Regions from separate parts of the Homo sapiens genome. Here region 2 is linked to region 1. The links are contacts of gene promoters, found by promoter capture Hi-C in human tissues and cell types (Jung and others, 2019). All regions are on one chromosome and are shown on one strand. The core of a region is centred on a gene start or on the middle of the fragment in contact, and the rest is flanking DNA. Distances in the headings are between cores, read along the strand shown.

Region 1 (3,683 bases), core at 821-3,320:
ATTAGTTTACATGCCCATATTTACTATGAATGAGTCAATCATTTTAGGTTCTTCAAGTGAAAGTGCTTCTGACAACAAACTATTCCTATAATAGCCCTAAATCCCCAAAAAAGTTGTTTTAAACCTGTGTAGAACGATGCATAGCTATTTCTAAAAAGTAAGACTACACACCAAAACATGCTTTGTCAGGAAAACTAATCCATGCACTTGAATATACCCCAAATATCTTATTTTTAATAAAGGTAGACCAACTTAAACATTGTCTAGAATTAAGCTATACTATTAAATTACTTGATTCCAGAAAGCGTCAAAAATCATTTGGCAGAAACTTAAAAAAGAAAATACTTACTCCTTGTCCCTTACTTCAAAAAAGGACTGGTTGGACCAATGTGATCAATATAACTGCATATATGTTAATCTACCTTAACATTTCCATCGATTAGCACTTGATCGTTACAAAGCCTTGTATGCAATTTTCTTGCAAAGGCTTCCCCCCGAAAGATGTAAGCACAAAACACTAGGCAGACACTCTTTAAAGTTTTATTTCACTAACTTCAGACCAAATTCCCACAACTGTGTTCTGGTCAATTTACTATCCTTGCTTGGCTTCCCCAAATGGTAGTACCAAAAGATTTGTGGGGTAGGGAGAAGAGACCACTTTAAGAAGCACTGCATTTACTCATCTTCCACAAGGCAACAGAGTTGGGCATCTGATTGTTCAACAAAACAAAGCTTTAATAGCATCCAGGAGGGCAGACAGGCAAACCACGCTGTAGACACTCTTCTATTTGTCAAAATCAGACCAGAGAAAACCTACTCCACACAGATATAATAGGTATTGATATTCATCTTTTCTTTTTCTGTTGCCGCAACATTTTTCTTCTTTTAATGATCATATCATGTAGTTTCTCAAGTCCTTCCTTTAGGCCATCTCCTATGATTGCACAGGTAGGCTGCAAATGCCAAGGAGTTGATGAGCTCAGTTCACCCATTGCTAACAATTTCTCAATTTCTGAAAGTGACAATGAGTTCCTCAAATCTTGTTTGTTAGCAACTATAAGTACAGGGACTCCCTGATTTTCTGATATCCTAGTTATTTTGTGAAGTTCAGTTTTGGCTTCTTCCATCCTTTCGACATCAACAGAGTCCACAACAAATACAATGCCATCTGTGCATCTGGTATATGACTTCCACAGTGGCCTTAATTTCTCCTGACCACCTACATCCCAGAAGTGAAAAGTGACTGTTTTAGAATTTCCCAAGGTTACCTTAATTTTCTCAGTGTTAAATCCTTTGGTAGGTACGGTATTTACAAATTCATTGAACTGCAGCCTGTATAAGACAGTTGTCTTTCCAGCACAGTCCAAACCCAGAATAACAATGTGGAAAGACTGAAATGAAGGCAGGTTGGACAGGATAGAAGTCTGGTCTGACAGCCCATTCCCCATTTCCAGGTGCAAATAAATGTCCCAAATTGAAATGCTTTTCTCTTCTTGGTTTACAACTTCTCTTGGTAGCTGATCCAGCTATAAGACTGCTGGGAGACGGAAGAAGGAATAAGTTATTCTCCCGAAATAATACATTAAAACAGGTTTGCTCTACTTTGCTAAAATAAACAACACGAAGAACTTACTATAACTTGCTGCGCTAAACAAACCAGACGAGATATGAAACGTACATGAAAACACACACAGTCCAAGACAAACGATGGAATAACAGTGATTGAAATTATCTGGTTTACTTAAATTGCAGTAATATGTACGTTTTTCTCCTGGGTCCCCAAACCTCAAAGACCTCATTCTGGAAAGAACCCAGTCACCAGTATCTGGTCTAAGTGGCCGTAACCACAAAGTGCCTATCTGGCAGAAAACTCATAGCAGATAGTCCTATCTTCGGAATCTAATTCCACATGCTTAACAGCATACCCAAGATCACTATTACCTCCTACCCCTTGCAAAATAACAACGTTCTCACCTCCCGATCTGGAGTCTGGGTCCAAATGAGAAAGCATTGGCAGGCGTTTCTACGCAGGGATAAGCACCCTTCCAGCTTAGCTCTCCAAGCAGCTCTGGCAGTTGCCGCACGAGAAACCTTGGACTCAGACTCCGACCACGCCCACTCCTCCCGGTCCACTCATGATCCCAAATCCCATTGGTCACCCGCATCAGGGAAGCCATGCAACTCCCGCCCCCGCTCCCTAATTGGTGAGGGTAACTGCCGCTCCCAGCGCGGCGGAGCTGAGCTCTCTCTCGGTCCACCGGCACCACCTGTTGCCCTTAAGTTAGAAAAGGCGGCGTTCCCAGAGGGAGCCGAGCAGCCGCTGCAGGTGAAGGGGAGCCTCGGGCGGTCAGGTCGCCGCCAGGCTGCCGGCTCCGTTCGGCCCGGCGCACCTGCAGCGCAGCCAGGGCGTCAAGCCAAGGCTCTCACATCCGGGGCCCGCAGTCACTGCCAACGCGTTAACCCTTTGTCCGCGGGCCCGAGGGTGCCGGCTGTTGCCGCGCGGGCCCCTGAGGCGCTAGAGATCCCACCTGGCGCGCCCGCCGGGATAAGCCCATCCTCCCCGAAGTGGGATCCCTTCACCCTGTCCCTCCGCACACGACCGGCTCTTCTCCCTCGGCAGGGCGTGGCCGCCCCGGCCGCCCACCCCGCCGCGGCTCACCTGACTAACCGTCCTTCCCTCTTCTTCATTCAGCGTCTCTCCCAGCCGCTGGGGAGGCGCGCTGATACCTGTTCCCTGGCACCAGGGAGGCGTGGGCGATGGCAGAGGACTGGGCGCCTGGCGGGCGCCGCGCGCCAGGCTGCCCTAACGGTGCTCGCCCGGCAGCTCCACGCGACAGTCCCCGCCCCCTGCCCGCGCGCCGCCCGGGCGCCGGCCTGTAGGGGGCGCGCAGGAGCCGCGTCTCCTAGCAACGCCAAAACAAGGTCGAGTTCGAATCGGCCTAGCGCTGGCTGCCCGCGAGGTCGGATGGGACTTCCGGCCTCACCCCTGAACGGTTGCTCCGGGTAGCTCTGTCTGCGGCGGCCCGCCAGCCTGGCACAGGCCCCGCCCGGCACCGCCTTCCCTCACGTCGTCTAGGGCGTCCGCGGGGCAGCAGCCACGTGATTCGCGGTTAGGGATTCCATAGTTCACGGGTTACGGCACACACGCGTTACGTATATATCGAGGTGACGTGGAAGTCCCCCAGTAGTTGACCTTAAACAGCCTGGGTTGACTGGCCTGGTAACTGCGCCTTCATTCGCTTTTTGTAGAGCAAATGAACGCGCTGTCTCACGTGTTTCTAGCAGCATCCCGGGGAACTGGCCACAGATAGAAATATTCCAGTTTGACACATAAGGAAATACACTCTGAAAGATGAAAGGGATGTTTCTTTTTTTCTTTTCTTTCAAATTGCTCACACAATTTTAATTGCAATAGATATAATTTCCAATATACCATTCAACTACACCATTTGTATGTGCTGGAGTGAGACAGGAGTATTTTGATTGAGTGTCCAGTTCTCTTTAAAACTAGCGTTTGCAGTTAACGACTTGGAAAATACAACACAAAAAGCCATCTAGCCTTTTTTTTTTTTTTAATCTCTATTTATCCCTTCAAAATTCCCTTTGTGGCCATATACATACTAGGTGGCTCTACCTGCAGAAAGCTGCATTTTCCAAGCAGCGGGAGAGTTTAATTCTTAACT
Region 2 (3,683 bases), core at 791-3,290, 1.0 Mb before region 1:
TAACACATAGTTTCAGTAGAAATGGTAACCGCTCTTCTTTGTACATCTGGTGAAATTCAGCTGTGAATCTGTTTCAGGGCTTTTTTTTTTTTTTTTTTTTTTTGTGGGTAGGCTACTTATTACTGATTCAGTTTTGGAGCTCATTATTGGTCTGTTCAGGTATTCAATTTCTTCCTGGTTCAGTCTTAGAAGAAAAGCAGTTTCATATGGAATTTGATACATGATACAACTCAAATAATAATTTCACTCTGTAGCACTTTATGAACTCTTCAGGTGTCTAAAATAAATTATCCTAGAGACACAGTCTAGCTTACTTAAATATGCAGAAACATATTGGAGTATCTTGTGGAGGAAACTATTTTGGAAGATCATTTTAATCACAAAGATACTGTCCAGTTATTTACTATTTACTTGGCAAACACGGAAAGGTTGGACAAAGGCAATCTGTCTTAAACTGCAGTAACCTAGTGACACCAGATTCCCTGTTTAGAAGAAAATAGAAAAGGGCATAGAATTAAAATAGTCTATTTTCTATGGGTGGGATCTCAGAGAATACATTAACACATTTTATATGGAAGTTTCACATTAAAGTTACCCTTCCCCAGTCTACCATCCTCCAGTAGAAAATCAATAGGCAAAGCTTAAAGTATCTTATCATTTCCTGAAATATGAAGCATATTTTAAGATTTCTTCAAATCAGTTTTCATGAAAAGATCTAATTAAATAAAATGATTTGCTATTTTTCCAATTGCTAGACCAATTATTAATTTAAACTAGAGCTATATTTTTATGACAATTACCATAGAATAAGATGGATAAATGATATTTTTATCTACTATTTGATCAAAATTCAATGTGCAAAATGTTAACAAAATAACCTTTAGAAATATGACATTCCTAATCACATTCCATAGCACTGAGATTCCAAATTACTTTAATCAACTAAGCAACATCAAAGTGAAAGTAACAGATTAAATGGAAATTAGAGTGCTTTAATGTAAAGATCTTTTGAAGTTACAAATAAACGGACCTATGAGAAAGGAAAAGAGGCAAAGTAAGAGAGAAAATAAGCTGCTGCCATACCTAATTTCAGGGAATAAAAAATTACCTACTAGAGTAATCTCAAATATTTTAATTTATGGTAAGACTTGAACTATATGAAAAGTAGCATATAATTTCTCTGATCTCTAATATTCTTTCTATATGTAACAGTTAATTTTAGGCTTTTCTTTAAAAACTCTAAACACCTCCAGCTGGTTTTGTAACTGGTCAGTAATTTGGTTAGCAACAGTGACGCTGAAGCTGTCTCCTGTTGGATATAATCATGAACATCTCTTCCACACGTTGTATGCAGTATAAAGGTCATCATGGGAATATTTTCACCATGGATATAAGCAAAAGCTATAAATAAGGCTTCTCTGCCACCCCAGAGAGCCAAGTATAATACATTTACCATCATTAGAACTGACTAGCAGGTACAATAGATGCATACTCTGTCACTGACAGTAAAATATAGTATCTTCGTTATGCTTAGAATCTTTCAAAGTAAATTCTAATGAAATTTATAGCAAGATATTGGTAGAACCTTCTCACTCAATGATGGCTGGAGAAAACCAAACAAAACAAGGCCACTACTCAAGCAATGGAGAGAAAAATTTTCTAGACTTTAAAAATATTTTGTCAAAAATTTTCTTAGGCACCTGTACGTTTCTTTCCTTCTGCATGCAAACAATGCCATGTTTTAAAGTTTCTAAAGAGAAATTATAAGTTTGTTAATTGTTTCATATTACAGAATTAAGATTTAAGGCTGGCTGATAACCTTAAATACAGTAGCAATAGGGATGTCATTTCCAACAACAACATTGGCTATATAATGGAAATAAAGGTCTAACATAGGTGATCTGTGAAAACTATATAGTTCTGAAACTATGTATGCTTTGTTCAGGAAAAAAAGCTTTGAAATTTTCTTAAGCGTAGTAAATTTTGTTTATTGATAGCAGTATTTTTTTAGTTAGTTCTATGACTACGTGGATCCTTGGAGCTACGTGCGGTGTGTTTGGATGCTTTTCGGCATTCATTTCCTCATGTGTGGTATGTGTTTGTGTTTGTATTTGTGTGTATGGTTTGGTTAGAAGTTTTTCCTGTAGGAGAAGCCTGCTATAACTCATGGATCGTAATGTTAGAAGTTCTGTGTTCATGCTTAATTGAAGAATGTGCTAATGCACTCATACCAAAGAGCCAGAATTAAATTTTCCATAGAAAATGGCATACTCCTGTGTGGTAGTTAAATCTTTCCTGTTGATTTATGAGTATAAACCCATGACTTTGACATTATAATGTTTCGAAGTTACTTATTGTATAGTTTTGTCTAATTTTAAAACTAATAGTAATTTTAAAAACTACTGACCTATATAGTCACAAGTTTTCAGGTAAGGGGAAAGCATCATTCAGAATTCTGAAACATAAAATCATTTGTGGAAGTGCAAATTGGTAGACAATTATATATAAATAACTGCAAATGTATGCATGGCATAGAAATGCATTCTTAGAAAATATCGGTGATTGACATAATCATTTGTGCATAAAATGTTTTTAAACACATTGTGAGACAAGTAAAAGAAATAAGGAGATAAGCTAAACATTGAAAAATGGAAATCAGTTAAGTTTTAAAATTTGTATGGTGGAAAATTATAGAGGCAAGTTTTAAAAATGGAGGTAATGTAAAGATGGCTTTAGAATGTAGACTCTGAAGATAAGCATAGGTTTGAACTCCAACTTCATCATCTTTTGACTTTGACCTTCAGCAAGTCAATTCAAAGCTTTAGATCCCTGAAGTATAAAAGATCGTTTAGATGAGTAAGAACAAAATATGTGTGTGTGTATATATATATATATATATATATGTCTTTAACATTGTTCATTAAGTGCATATCATAAGCATTTAATGAACAAGAGGTGTTATATAGCTTATTTTTAATATTTAGATATATAATTAAAGGCTATTAAATATGAAAAATGTTATAAATATAAACACAAGCTATAAAATGATAAGTATAGTATGGATGCAAATGTTTGCATTTAATAATGTGTACATATGCTTTATTTCAGAAGGTATACTATTCAAATATGTTTCAAAAGGATGGGAAAATATTTTAAAAATGGTAGTAGAATAAATAATTGAAGTTTTTTTTCTTAAACACTTCTTTACTTTCTACTCTTGACAATGAGCATGTATTATATAATGAAAAAGTAGAAATCTTCAAGAAAAAGATAGTTTTTTGATGTATGTATTCCAACTTTCTTTGGTACATTTTTTTACAGAGGAGGACTTGATTTGAATACAAAAACAAAAATTCTAGTATTAATAACTGCTTGAAAATAAACAAAACATTTTTTGTAAAATTCTTAAGATGTGAATTTAAAAATTCTCTAAATCATAGAAACTTTATGACAAAAGCTACTTGATATTTTATACTTGTACAGGTTTGGCCTTAGCTAAAGTTATAAATAATTGTTTGTCACATACTTAACACAAAGCAAACTTGTTATAAAGATTTACTATTTTATTTTACAAGTTCTTGTTAAATTCACCCTTTCTAATCCAGTCTGCAGTATTGGAGAAAGCAATGGCATAAGATGAATGAGAAAGCATAATCACGTGTTCACTGATGGCTCACGAACCG

The links. Contacts are between HindIII fragments. The study calls those that stand out against the background at their distance.
Region 2: a fragment that was not itself captured here is called in contact with the fragment with the promoter of ARL4A in region 1 in 1 of the 25 tissues and cell types used here (lymphoblastoid cells).

The regions. Positions count from the first base shown.
Region 1 is chr7:12,686,020-12,689,702 of GRCh38, reverse strand. It overlaps ARL4A (ARF like GTPase 4A), which reads right to left and starts at 2,070. Exons shown (of 2, transcript NM_005738.5): 1 at 1,975-2,070; 2 at 1-1,537. The coding sequence starts at 1,448. The coding sequence ends at 846. It also overlaps the pseudogene LOC100505995. RefSeq lists silencers at 2,506-2,555, 2,756-3,035 and an enhancer at 2,025-2,561. The HindIII fragment of the contact is 5,802 bases long and covers 278-3,683 here.
Region 2 is chr7:13,706,489-13,710,171 of GRCh38, reverse strand. No RefSeq gene overlaps it. Among named protein-coding and RNA genes, the nearest start is that of ETV1, 280 kb to the left of the region's middle. The HindIII fragment of the contact is 4,081 bases long and covers 1-3,683 here.